Linked DNA regions of Homo sapiens: region 1 is linked to region 2. The links are contacts of gene promoters, found by promoter capture Hi-C in blood cells and fetal thymus (Javierre and others, 2016). All regions are on one chromosome and are shown on one strand. The core of a region is centred on a gene start or on the middle of the fragment in contact, and the rest is flanking DNA. Distances in the headings are between cores, read along the strand shown.

Region 1 (7,687 bases), core at 4,744-7,243, 59 kb after region 2:
GCTGGAGTGCAGTGGTGCGATCTTGGCTCACTGCAATCTCTGCCTCCTGGGTTCAAGTGATTCTCCTGCCTCAGCCTCCCTAGTAGCTGGGATTACAGGCGTGTGCCACCATACCCGGCTAATTTTTTGTATTTTTAGTAGAGACAAGGTTTCACCATATTGACCAGGCTGGTCTCGAACTCCTGACCTCAAGTGATCCACCCGCCTCGGCCTCCCAAAGTGCTGGGATTACAGGCGTGAGCCACTGCACCCAGCTAAGAAGTCTTTATTTCAGAAAATGAAAGACTGTCTAGAAAGAACGAATTTTTTTTCCTATTTATTTCTATGGTTACTGCTTTTACACTTAATATTTTTTGTTTTCGGTATTTTTATATGTTTGATTGCTGTCTTTAAAGTGCCTTATCAGATTTATGGCTCTGTACTATGAATTTTGGAGCTTTACAAGTTATTTACATAACTCTAAGTTACTTTGCTTCCAATACATCAAATTTAAATAACATGATTGTTTTTATATTATTTGACCTTAGTGACAATGTCCTATTTTATTTGTTCTGTATCTTATGTCGCTTTTTGGTAGTTTGTATTATGTGTGAATGATTAAGCCAACTAATTCTGTACCATATATAACTTCTGGATATCTTTGATATGACATCTTAATTCTTTGTAGATATGGTGATGTGTACAGAATGATATTCTGAAGCTCCACAATGGTGCATTGAAAGGCTGCAGATGGATGGCCAAAGAATAGTTTTGTTTAGCATATTAGGTCTAGTTCTGGACTTTTTTTTTTATACTTTAAGTTCTGGGGTACATGTGCAGAACATGCAGTTTTGTTACATAGGTATACACGTGCCATGGTGGTTTGCTGCACCCATCAACCCATCACCTACATTAGGTATTTCTCCTAATGTTATCCCTCGCCTAATCCCCACCCCCCGACAGGCCCCAGTGTGTGATGCTTCCCTCCTTATGTCTGTGTGTTCTCATTGTTCAAATCCCACTTACGAGTGAGAACATGCAGTGTTTGGTTTTCTGTTCATGTGATAGTTTGCTGAGAATTATTGTTTCCAGCTTCATCCATGTCCCTGCAAAGGACATGAACTCATCCTTTTTTATGGCTGCGGAGTATTCCATGGTGTATATGTGCCACATTTTCTTTATCCAGTCTGTTATTGATGGACATTTAGGTTGGTTCCAAGTCTTTGCTATTGTGAATAGTGCCTCAATAAACATACATGTGCATGTGTCTTTATAGTAGAATGATTTATAATCCTTCGGGTATATATCCTGTAATGGGATTACTGGGTCAAATGGTATTTCTAGTTCTAGATCCTTGAGGAATCATCACACTGTCTTCCACAATGGTTGAACTAATTTACACTCCCGCCAACAATGTAAAAGCACTGGACTTTTTTTTTTTTAAGTTAAAAGATCACACACAGGGTGTGATTTCTATACCAAAGATATGCTTATTTCAGTATGAGGAAAAATATTTTTCTTACATGTCCTGAAAATTGCAATTTTAAAAATGTACAAAATAAATTTTTATTAAAAGCAAATTTTATTTCAAAAAAAAAGAGTGAAAGACAACCAACTGGATAGGAGAAAGTATTTGAAAGTCATATATCTGATAAGGGATTAATATCCAAGAATATAAAGAACTCTTACAACTCAACAACAACAACAAAATAACCTTATTAAAAATTGGGTAGAGTGCTTGAATAGACATTTCTTCGAAGATATACAAATACCCAATAAGCACATGAAAAGATGCTTGACATCATCAGTAATCAGAGAAATGTGAATCAAAACCACAATGAGATACCACTTCACACCTGCTAGGATGGGTAGAATAAAAAAGATAATAGGTATCGGAGGTGGAACAATTGGGGCCCTTATATACTGCTCATGGGAGTATAAATGGTACAGTCACTTTGGAAAACAGTCTGGCAGATCCTCAAACAATTAAACATAGAGTTATTATATGACCCAGCAAGTCTACTCTTAGGTATTACCAAAGAGAAATGAAAACACAAAAGTTTGTACATGAATGTTTATAGCAGCATTATTCATAATAGCCAAAAGATGGAAACAACCCAAATGTTCATCAACTGACAAATAGATAAATTATGGTGTATCTATGCAGTGGAATATTATTCAGCCATAAAAGGGAATGATGTACTGATATGTGCTGTAACATGGATGAACACTGAAAACATGCTACATGAAAGAAGTCAGTCACAAAAGACCACATATTACATGATTTCATTCATCTGAAATGTCCAGAAGAGGAAAATCTATACAAGCAAAGTAGATTAGTGGTTGCCCAGGACAGAAGGCTTAGGAGGTGATGACTGATAGGTAAGGGGTATGTTTTGTTGTTGTTGTTGTTGTTTTTAGGTGATGAAAATGTTCTGAAATTGCCTGTGGTGATGGTTGCACATGTCTGTGAATATGCTAACAACTATTGAATTCTACACTTTAAATGTGCGAATTATATAATACGTGAACTACATCTCAAGAATGTTTTAAAACTGGTGTTGGGAAAACAGGACATCCACATGTAAAACAATGTATGTCAGATCCTTACCATACACCATGTACAACAATTAACTCAAAATGGATTAAAGACCTAAATATAAGAGCCAAAACTACAAAAACTCTTAGAAGAAAACATAGCAGTAAATATTCGTAAGTTTGAATGTGGCAATGGTTTCTTAGATATGACACAAAAAACACAAAAGAAAAAAGATAAATTGGACTTCACAAATTAAAAGCTTTTGTGATTCAATGGACACCATCAAGAAAGTGAAAAGAATGGAATACCGATACATTTTACACATCAATGTACCTTGAAAACATTATGCTAAGTGAAAGAATCCAGACACACAAGGACACATATTGAATGAATCAATTTATATGAAATGGCCGTATAGGCAAATCCGTAGAGATAGGAAATAAAATTAGTGTTTGCCAGGGGCTGTGAGTAGAGAGGAAATGGGGAGTGTTGCTAATGGACATGGGATTTCTTTTTGGAGTAATGAAAATGTTTTGCAACTACATAGTCATTATGGTTGCACATCCTTGTGAATGTACTAAAAAGTACTGAACTGGATACCTTAAAAGGCTGAATTTTTTTCATTTCTTCTAAAAAAAACCAGGATAGATGTGCAGAACGTGCAGGTTTGTTACGTAGGTACATGTGTGCTATGGTGGTTTGCTGCATCTATTGACCCATCCTTTAAGTTTCCTCCCCTCACCCCTCACCCCCCAGCAGGCTCCGGTGTGTGATGTTCCCCTCCCTGTGTCCATGTGTTCTCATTGTTCAACTCCCATTTATGAACAAGAACATGCAGCATTTGGTTCTCTGTTCCTGTGTTAGTCTGCTGAGGATGATGGTTTCCAGCTTCATTCATATCCCTGCAAAGGACATGATCTCATTCCTTTGTATGGCTGCATAGTATTCCATGGTGTATATGTACCACATTTTCTTTCTCCAGTCTATCATTGATGGGCATTTGGGTTGGTTCCAAGTCTTTGCTATTGTAAATAGTGCTGCAGTAAACATACGTGTGCATGTGTCTTTATAGTAGAATGATTTATATTCCTCTGGGTATGTACCCAGTAATGGGGTTGCTGGGTCAAATGGTATTTCTGGTTCTAGATCCTCGAGGAATCGCCATACTGTCTTCCACAATAGTTGAACTAATTCACATTCCCACCAACAGTGTAAAAGCGTTCCTATTTCCCCACAGCCTCACCAGCATCTATTGTTTCCTGAGTTTTTAATAATTGCTATTCTGACTGGTGTGAGATGGTATCTCATTGTGGTTTTGATTTGCATTTCTCTGATGATCTGTGATGTTGAGCTTTTTTTCATATGTTTGTTGGCCGCATAAATGTCTTCTTTTGAGAAATGTCTATTCATATCCTTTGCCCACTTTTTGATGGGGTTGTTTTTTTCTTGTAAATTGTTTAAGTTCCTTGTAGATTCTGGATATTAGACCTTTGTCAGATGGGTAGATTGCAAAATGTTTTCTCCCATTCTGTAGGTTAAAAGGCTGAATTTTATAGCATGTGAATTATATCCCAATTTAAAAAAGAATGCATATGTCTTAGTTCAGGCTTCCATAACATAATACCATAGACTGGGTGGTCTAATTGTTCAAAGCTCCACAGAAATTAGTTGGAGAAGTTACAAGAGTCCATTAATCATCTTGCTTTGTTAGTAGCAGCGGGCATGGTTCAGCATTTTCTGCTTAAGTTTCTCTGAGCTCACCAAAACTAAAATGATGTTGTAATACTTTTTTTTTTTAATTGCACATCACTCCTTTATTATACTGATCTGGTAAAAGGATTTAGTACAGTTATGCTCAGATGAACACTGGGCCCATGTGGCAGGGTCAAGCAACTAGAACATGATTCAGAAATCAGTGAAAGACACACTTGGACAGGACCAAGAGGCATTTCACTGCCATGAAACAAGGCAGGAAGGGATTCTAATACACACACCAGGAAGCACTCCTGCCCCTCAGAGGTCAAGGAGCTGATCCTATATTGGTATGAGGAATGGCTTATTTTCTGATGACCACATGTGGGACTATTTCAACCGCCACAAGAAACCCCAGAAGGGTTATTGTTTTGTATTATTAATATATACTATACTTTTTTAATAAAAGTAAATATAACACATAACGAAATTCAGGATTGATCCCAACCTAGAGCCAGATCCTCTGGGGTCAAGGAGGAAACAGTTGTCACATCACCATGCAGATTACATTCATCTTCCACTGGAATGACTAGAGCCCCCAGGCAGTGGCCTGACTGCAGAAGAGCAGAGGACAGACTCTGCTCATGGGGACAGACAGGCTCTGTTGCTTCTCCTCATTGGTCGTGGCTTAGCATGTTCCTCCCCAAAGTCCTTAGTAAACAAAGCACTCACAAAAACCCAAGTCACTACTTTTAAACTCTGTTGGATAAGGGGAGCTTTTCCACAGCTTAGACTGAGAACCTGTGCTCTAGAACTGCTATTCTGACTAGATTGTATGAAGGGAGTGGGTGCAGGCGACAAAATGGCTAAAATGAAAATGGGAGCCACTGGTCCCCATCTGCAGCTACAACTCAAGATGTCTACAGATGTGGTCAGTGTGACATGTGCAGGTGGGAGGGGCAGAGGGACAAGACCAGCAGGGAGGGTGCTCCTGGGGACAGTATCCTCCCCGCTGGCCTTCACTTCTTGGCCTTGCCCTGGGCAGCCACAGCTTCTATGGCTTTGCACACCGTCTCTTCATCCCCCAGAAACTGCATGGGCTTGATAGGCTTCAAGTTCTTGTCCAATTCATAGACGATGGGAATACCAGTCGGCAGGTTCAGCTCCATGATAGCCTCTTCAGAGAGACCCTCCACATGCTTGGCAATGCCCTGGAGGCTGTTGCCATGGGCTGCAATCAGTACACGTTTCCCCTCCTTGATCTGGGGAACTATTTCTTCATTCCAGAAGGGCAGAGCTCTGGCAATAGTATCCTTCGGACTCTCATAGGAGGGTAGCTGATCTTCTGTGAGGTCTGCATACCTGCGATCCTTACTGATGTTGCTGTAGAAAGGATGGTCGGGCTCCATCGGAGGTGGTGGGACATCATAGGAGCGCCTCCAGATCTTCACCTGGGCCTCACCATGCTTTGCAGCAGTTTCTGCTTTATTGAGACCGGTTAGACCCCCATAGTGCCGCTCATTGAGGCGCCAAGTCCTCACCACTGGCAGCCACATCTGATCAATGGCATCTAGCACTGTCCAGAGGGTCCGGATCACTCTCTTCTGCACTGAGGTGAGGCAGATGTCAAACTCATAGCCAGCATCTCGTAGCGCCTGCCCGCCGCGCTTCGCCTCCTCGTGGCCCGCCGGGCTCAGATCGGCGTCGTACCAGCAGCTGAAGCGGTTCTCCAGGTTCCATGTGCTCTCGCCGTGCCGGATCAGCACCAGTTTGTAGGCGGCCATGGCGGTGGGCTGCAATACTTTTTATACCATTTGAAGTAAAAGGTACAAAAGGTTATACGCTGAAAATTCTTTTTCCCACCCTTATTCCCTAACCACTCATTTCCCCTCACCAGAGGAACCACTGTTTCCATGGGATATATTAGATTGATTTATATGAAATTGCCGGTGTTTGACTATGATGATTTCATGTGGTTCAGCCTAATATCAGTGAAAAAACAGAGTCCTATCTTCATGGAGTTTTTATTCTAGTGGGAAGTGTATTACTTAATTATTGCAGTGTAACAAATAACCCCAAAATTTAGTGGCTTAAAGCAACAAACATTTATTATCTCACATTTCCTATGACTCAATAATTTGGGAGCAGCTTAGATGGGTAGTTCTGGCTCAGGGTGTCTCATGAAGTTGTAGTCAATATGGTGTCTGGGGATGTAGTAGTTTAAAGGCTTAACTTAGGTCTGAAGGAGCAGTTTCCAAGGTGGTTCACTTACCTGGCTATTGGCGGGAGGCCTTAGGTCTTTGCTGGTTTTTGACATGAGGCCTCAGTTCCTCACCATATGAACCTCTCCATAAGGCTGCTTGTATGTCTTCATACTTGGTAGGTGGCTTCCCCCAGATTGCGTGATTCAGGAGAGAGGACAACAAGGAAAACACAATGCTTTTTTCTCCTCTTGCAATGTTTTTTATGACCTAGTCTTGGAAGTCACACCTTGTCGCTTCTACCGTAGTCTATTCATTAGAAACAAGTCATTAGGCCAGGTGTGGTGGCTCATGCCTGTAATCCCAGCACTTTGGGAGGGCGAGGCGGGTGGATCACTTGAGGTCAGGTGTTCGAGACCAGCCTAGTCAACATGGTGAAACCTTGTCTCTACTTAAAATACAAAAAATTAGCCGGGTGTGGTGGCATGCGCCCGTAATCTCAGGTACTGGGGAGGCTGATGCAGGAGAATCACTTCAACCCGGGAGGCGGAAGTTGCAGTGAACTGAGATCGTGCCACAGCACTCCAGCCTGCGAGACAGAATTGAGTCTCAAAAACAAAAACAAAAACAAAAACCAAAACAACAACAACAACAAAAAACAAGAAACAAGTCATTAAGTTCAGGCCACACCGAAGGGGAAAGGATTAAATTCCACCTCTTGAAGGAAGGAGTAGCAAAGAATTTGTGGGCGTATTTTAAAACCACCACAGGAAGGCAGACAATAAGCAATAAACAGAATAAATCAGCAAGTTATGGAGTATGTTAGAAGGTGGTACGTTCTATGAAAACAAAAGAAAAAGCAGAGGTAAGGGGAATCAGAGTATGTTTGTGTGGAAGGGATGTAGGTTGCAGTTTTAAATAGGGTGGTCAGCATAGTCCTCATTAAGGTTAGATTTGAACAAAGACTTGGAGACAAAGAAGTTAGCCAAGCAGTTATCTGGAAGAAGAAAGTCCCAAAGCAAGAGAATAGCTAAAATAAGGCCTTGAAGTAGGAGTCATCCTTGCATGCGTAACAGCCAGGAGGCCAGTATGACTGGCACAGAGAAGGGTTTGGTGAGTGGTAGAAGAGGAGGCCAGGTAAACTTGAGGGGGACAGGCATGGGAAATCATGTGGGACCTTGTTGGCTGTTGTAAGGATTTGAGGCATTTTTGATTAGTTCTTAATTCGTACTTACAAATGTTAAATGAGATTATGTATGGGAAACATTAGTAATCA
Region 2 (7,110 bases), core at 3,364-5,863:
CAGCCCTTAAATGGCTTTTATGAGGTAATGTGAAAGGAAAATTTGCCTTTGACCTGGAAGTCAACTTTATAGTAAGCTGAAATTATAAATAACTGATCATGGAACTATTGCAGATCACCTTTGAGCCAAAAATTTGGCCTGGATTTTGGTTATGCCTACTACTATGTGCCTCTCATTTGTATTTATACCTGGAATTGGCATTATTAACTCCTTTTCACTCCTGCCTAGAAAACTTAAAGTGTCACCAGACCCAAGGGCGGAGTGGTCCTATAAAACAAACTCGTAGCCTGTCTGAAGACTAGCTACTAGCTCCTTGGCTGTTTTGGCATATTCATCTTGATTATAGCTCTTGGTCTTTCATCATATTAGGGATGTTTATGATGTTATTAAAGAAAATCTTGTCAAATGCAGTCTGTTCCTAGTTATCTACTATCAGTCACCTGTTGTATAATTATAACAATGTTTGGATTTGTGGATTATTATTTTAGTATATAACATTGGATTTTATGTATGTTACCTGAAGAAGAGCAATATCTGTACCACATATTTCTTTGTTTTTCTTTTTTGAGATGAAGTCTCACTCTGTTGCCCAGGCTGGAGTGCAGTGGTGTGATCTTGACACACTGCAACCTTTGCCTCCCGGATTCAAGTGATTCTCCTGTCTCAGCCTCCCTAGTAACTGGAATTACAGGCGCCTGCCACCATGCCTGGCTAATTTTTGTATTTTTAGTAGAGATGGGGTTTCACCATGTTGGCCAACCTGGTCTTGAACTCCTGACCTCAGGCGATCCACCCACCTCAGCCTCCCAAAGTGCTAGGCTTACAGGCATGAGACACCGCGCCCGGCTTATATATCATTACTTTCTTGGCTGAGAGCTGTAGTCTGTGGTAGTTGTTTTGTTTTGTTTTTTGTTTTTTTTTTGTAGTTTTCTTGATCGTGATCAATTAAGCAGAAAGTAGAATTTCAGTCAGGTAACCTGTCTATATTAGCTAAATTATCTTTTGCTTATTACATAGAGTGCTAGAAGTATGCTGTCATGGCATATGTCCTAGTTTCTCATCAAATGGACCAAAGTCAGTGATTTTATTTGAAGAGGAAAAATTGAACGTCATTGTAAATTAAGTTGCAAGTTTAGTAACCATATTGTACCACTGTTTGATAAATTTGAACGCTTTATGGTATTTCATATTTAGAATGTTCAAAATAGTACTGAAGTATTCAAATACATACAACCCTGAGCGATATTGAAGTAAAATAAACATGTATTTAAGGAAGTGTCAACCTTCAATTATATACCTTTTTGTCACTGAATTAACACTTATTTCTCACGACGTGGAAGCAGTTTCAGTATGGTTTGTACTAAGCTAAGTGATAGTTGTCATCTGTATGACAATTTAGAATGTTTTCTGTGTCCATTTGTGATCAAAATTATATGTTGCTTTGTGTGATAAAACCTGGTGGTGGTAGTAACTTTGAACACACTTTTTGAACTTAATTTTGTAGTTAATCTTATCCTGATGAGTAATTCTAAAACTTATGACCACTACTAGAAATGAAGCAGTTTTTTGTGTGTGTGTGCCATCACAGTATATACTGACCTTGGAGCTTTCCTAGTGCTCTCAGAGCCATGAAAATATCCTTTCACACAAATTTTCTCAACTTACCCGTAACATCGCTTTGAGTTTCAGTCATACCTAGAGTTGGAAAGTCGTCAAATTAGTCCTCTGTCCTCAAGTATCTGTAAGTCTGAAGAATTTAGGTAAGTTACTTACCTTAAAATCATTGCCAATCCTTTAAACTCTATTTGGATGGCTGTGAAATATTTTAACATTAGGGTTAATGTCATAAATCCCATTCTTTTTTTTTTTTTGAGACCGAGTTTTGCTCTGTCATCCAGGCTGGAGTTCAGTGGTGTGATTTTGGCTCACTGCAACCTCCGCCTCCTGGGTTCAAGGGATTCTGCCTCGGCCTCCCAAGTAGCTGGAATTACAGGCGCCCACCATCACACCTGGTTAATTTTTATATTTTTAGTAGAGACAGGGTTTTGTCATGTTGGCCAGGCTGGTCTCGAACTCCTGACCTCAGGCGATCCACCTGCCTCGGCCTCCCAAAGTGCTGGGATTACAGTCGTGAGCCACGGTGCCCAACCTCATAAATCTCATTCTTAATTTCACTCTAGGACAGAATTATTGTAGCACCTGTGTTCTGTTATTTTAGATTCATTTTAACTTACCTAGACACGGGTACTGTGGTAGTTGTAGAGGTACAGATGTTGAGTTCCCATCCTCCTGGCTTAATGTCACTGGGGTTATTAATACACTTCATAAGCATTTTAGGGACACCTGCTGTCTGCTCAACCCCCAGCAAACCTGATTATTTCTTGAAGACATTCCCTTCTATGCTTGTGCATTGGTAAGGAGGATTAGGGATGATGCATTTAAAGACAAGAGTTTTAGGCTGGGCCTGGTGGCTCATATCTGTAATCCCAGCACTTTGGGCAGCTGAGGTGGGAGGATCATTTGAGGCCAAGAGTTCGAGACCAGCCTGGGCAACAAAGGGAGACTCCCATCTCCACACACAAAAAAATAAAAACTAGCCAGGTGTGGTGGTGTGTGCCCATAGTTCCAACTACTTGGGAGGCTGAGGTGCAAGGATCGCTTTAGCCCCGGAGTTTAAGGTTACAAGGACCTATGATCACACTTCTGCACTCCAGCCTGGGTGACAGCAAGACTCTCAAAACCAAACAACAACAAAATATATATATAGCTCTCTAGGTTTTTATGTTAAATATTAGAGTGCCTAAGAATGTACATGGTTGGCAGAGGATCTTGCAGCTCATAGTGATAAACTTTAGTATTTACATAAAAATACTAGATAGCTAGTAGATTCAATGTTCTGCTTCTGAAAAAGATATATTTTTGGTTTTGCCTTTTAGTGAATTTCTTTTGGATGCTTAACACAATGTTAATATAGTTACAAACCAACTTGCTAATATTTGGAAACCCACTTAAAAGCTATCTTCATTTCATATGATGTGATTTTTAAGATTTTAAATTTGGGGCTGAGTTTGTATCTTAATAATTAAGGCTGCACACATTGACAACTACAAAATAATGCCTGGGAAGATGAGTCCTGAGGCTAATTTTATATTTATGTGGATGAGTGTGGAGGGGGATAATAATTCTGAAATACTTAATCACAGACCTAAAATGTAGATCTATGGGTAATTTTAAATGTTGCCTGTCAAGGCTTAATAGGGACTTGACAACAGCTAGGATGGAAATTATTTCAACACTTAAATATGCTTACTTTGTGCCGGACGCTGTTCTAAGTCTTTTACAAATATTTACTTGATATTTGTATTTTGTGTACTATTTTGATTTCTGCAACATTATTAGGCTTCATACTCTTCTGTGGGAACTGGGTTCAAATGGTTCCAGATGAAAATACAAATAGTCCTGTGATTAGTTTTGTTCTACATCTTATGACAGATACTTCATGAAAGGAAATATGAAAAGGCCACATCTTGCTTTGAAATAAGTGAGATGGAGCCTCTCCCTCTTTTTACTGTTAATGTTCATAGTTTTAAAAATCCTAGAATTTTGCTGCTTTTCAAAATGTTAAGTTGGAAAGCAAGAATAAAATGACCCTTTTTTCAAATGTTTTCTGTACCATTTATTGCATTGTTTACATTTTATGCATCTCATTTCTAAATGAACTCATGGTAACAGAGACTGTAACACTTTTGCATCACCGGAATCTTCTAGGTGTGTAAAATGATGGACGAGTGAATGAATAAATGGGGGAGTGGTTCAGAGCTTGGAATGGCGCTATGAAGGTGGTGAAGTGACGTCCCTACCCCCTCAACACACATATAAAAATTATGAATTTATAAACATTTTCCTCTTGATGTAATTTTTCAATGGAGGGAAGAGGATAAATTCATAGTTCTGGCACTTACATCTGGAATTAGGCTACACAGTCTACGGGAAGCAAGTTAACACAGTCTAACAGATGCACGTGAATTTCATGCTGGGCGAAGATGAACTATGTGGAAGATGACTTATAAGGAGCTTTTATGTTACATCTTGGCAGTTAACACAGTCTAACTGATGCACGTGAATTTCATGCTGGGCGAAGATGAACTATGTGGAAGATGACTTATAAGGAGCTTTTATGTTACATCTTGGCAGTTAACACAGTCTAACAGATGCACGTGAATTTCATGCTAGGCAAAGATGAACTATGTGGAAGATGACTTATAAGGATCTTTTATGTTACATCTTGGCCTGAGGTTAGGAAACTAAAGATGACAAAGGCACTGTTTTAGTATGGGTTTTCTGGTTTCGCTTTTGTCGTGGGGGCGGGGTGGGATAGTGGACTCGTACCCTAACAAAGACCCACTCGAGGCTGCGTGTCGGCCCGGGGGCAGCAGGGGGCAGGAGAAGCTGGCTCTAGACCACGCGTTCCTTTTCACGTGACCAGTCGCTCTCTTTCCCGTGGCGGCCCTGCTTCCGGCAGGGGCATCACCCGGAAGTGGGGGTAGTCGAGGGAGGGAGGGGTAAAGGCGGCTGGCCGCCGCGGCGGGGGGTGGGAAAAGAGAAGCAGAGGGAGGAGTTGTTGCTGCCGCCGCCGCAGCCGCAGCTACTGTGACTTCTCCGATTGTGTGAGCTTTGTTGGAGCCTGCGTACGTGGATTTATCGCTGCCACGGTCTGCGTAGCTCCAGAGGTTTAACCATAGGATAGAGAAACCAGGTAAGTCCTACATTGGCTTCCCGTCGTCCTTTCTCCTGGAGGGGGTCTTCTGTGCTGTCAGTTTGTACTACGAGTGTGGTGAGAAGGTCATGTTAGTCTGGGGCAGTCTCGAAAGTTTCACTTATTCACAATTCAGGTATTAACTACATTTATGTTTTACCTCCCCTAACAGGGGATAGAGGAGGGGAAATTAAATCCTGACCTGTGTCACTTTCTTGTACCCTCTTGGAGAGAATGTCCTGATCATCCATGGCCTACGTTACCCAATTAATTGAGGGTACAAGAAAGTTTGTGTTTGGCATTGAAAGTCACATGGACTGGGGTCTTTGCTTAGTGACACCTCTTTATACTTTGGAAGCTAAGGTTACTAAAATGACCATAATTGATGAAATAATAATTGAAAAATAGATATTTGGCTTCTTGTCTTGCTCTGGGAGCGTAAGGTAAACTGAGAGAACTCTTGTTTCCACTTAGTTTTGTTCATTGTGCCCCCTTTCCAGTAAAGTTACTGTCCATTGTCCGACCCTGTGGCATCTTATCTTTGACACTTTTCTTCGTTGTAGACGTTGAGATTATCTTAAGCACAAACACTTATCGTTTCACAATTCAGCGTTTGTCCAGGATCTGATCTTTATTTTAATCACAGACTCTTTATCTACAATAGTATGGCTTTGTATTGAGAATATGTGCAGAACATTGAATTAGATGATACTGAGGTTATTAATTTTTTTTTTTTTTTGCCGGGTGCGGGGGGGTGGTGGGGAGGGGGTGATGCACAAGAAATAAGACAGAGTTCCTGGCCTCAAAAGAGTTTACTTACAGTAGGCTGGGCGCAGTGTCTGACACACCTGTAATACCAACACTTTGGGAGGCCGAGGAGGGTGGATCACCTGAGGTCAGGAGATCGAGACCAGCCTGGCCATCATGGCGAAACCCTGTCTTTACTAAAAATACAAAAATTAGCTGGGCGTGGTGGCGGGCGCCTGTAATCCCAGCTAGTCGGGAGACTGAGGCAAGAGGATCGCTTGAACCTGGGAGGCGGATGTTGCAGTGAGCCGAGATCGTGCCACTGCACTCCAGCCTGGGCTACAAGAGCGAAACTGTCTCCAAAAAAGAAGAAAGAAAAATAAACAGTTTACATACAATTGAGTCCGAATTGAGTCAGTTGAATTCAGCTATGAAGACAACGGTTTCTAGCAGCCCCACTGACTGAATTACTAGGTTGCTTATCACATCCTTTTCAATGGTTATTTTTGAACTGGCATTTTATTATATTTAACATTTTCTGGTGTCTAAGGTCATGACATGAGAGAGTTTTTTTTGTACTTGAGGATCTCAATGTAGTAGGAAAGAAAGATACACGATTACCTAAACATTTAAAAAATCTCACTAACGTTATATATTAGAAACAGGAGGTGTTATGAGAGTGCAGGGAAGGGAGCATGTGAACTGGGCTTTGAAAAATAGATAGGATTTAGCTTTGCAGGAATGGAGGAAGAGGAAGACATCTATCTGGACTGATAGATAGAAGAAATAATGTGAGCAAAGCCATGGGGGTCTGGAAAGTTGCCCGACATCCAGTAACACACTGTAAGTCAATATTCCTATTTCTAACAGCCACATCTTCCAAGATGTCACTGATTAAAATTAGAAAAAATATAGAATACAAAACTAGTCAGCTCACAAACATATCCAACTGCCCTCCAGCCAATAAGAAAGCTTATATAGAGAAAAAAATACATGGAAATGACAAAAGCAATGTTAATGTATGAGGCTTAATTCTGATGTAAACTCAAATCTAAAAGAGAAAAAATGTAAAACTCGCTATACTTTAATTCTGATTGAGTGTTGTGCCTTAAATATAATTTGGAATCATTTTTAAAATTGTTGGGAATGAATAACATTTTCTGAAGTGAGCAACTGTTCCAGGTTTTCCCCAAGGAATCTCTGCTTTTCCTTTTTTCCTCTAAATTGATTTCTCTCTATTGATCTTCTTAACTTGATAGGAACTATTCTATTCCGATCACAGCCTTAGAAAGATCTTGATGCCTGCCCTCAAGATAAGGTTAAACACTAATCCCTCCAAAGGATAGGTTAACATCTCTGTTCTCTAAAGCAGAAGGTTGATTTTCTTTGAAAAATGCTTGCAGAAGCAGTAAAATTTGCTTACAAAACAAGAGAGAGAGAGAAAAGAGTGCAAAAATAACCCCAGCTAACACACCACAACCTTCACTTCTGTGAGGGCGCTAAAGGAAATACATTTTAAAAAAATAAATTCCTTGTTATAACTCCTTTTATCTATATATTTAAAAGCTCTTGGCAAACTTTATTAATCAAGACTTTGGACATCCTGA

What was found. Contacts are between HindIII fragments. The CHiCAGO score rates a contact against its expected background, and 5 or more counts as called.
Region 1: the fragment with the promoter of PGAM4 here is called in contact with the fragment with the promoter of ATP7A in region 2 in 13 of 17 cell types (neutrophils, M2 macrophages, naive CD8 T cells and 10 more); the score reaches 9.0 in neutrophils.

The regions. Positions count from the first base shown.
Region 1 is chrX:77,963,645-77,971,331 of GRCh38, forward strand. PGAM4 (phosphoglycerate mutase family member 4) reads right to left here and starts at 5,994. Exons shown (of 1, transcript NM_001029891.3): 1 at 4,305-5,994. The coding sequence starts at 5,994. The coding sequence ends at 5,230. All of the region lies in intron 1 of ATP7A (ATPase copper transporting alpha), which reads left to right. It also overlaps the pseudogene C4orf46P2. The HindIII fragment of the contact is 8,998 bases long and covers 2,776-7,687 here.
Region 2 is chrX:77,906,080-77,913,189 of GRCh38, forward strand. ATP7A (ATPase copper transporting alpha) reads left to right here and starts at 4,614. Exons shown (of 23, transcript NM_000052.7): 1 at 4,614-4,756. COX7B (cytochrome c oxidase subunit 7B) reads left to right here. Exons shown (of 3, transcript NM_001866.3): 3 at 1-1,297. The HindIII fragment of the contact is 7,135 bases long and covers 1-6,473 here.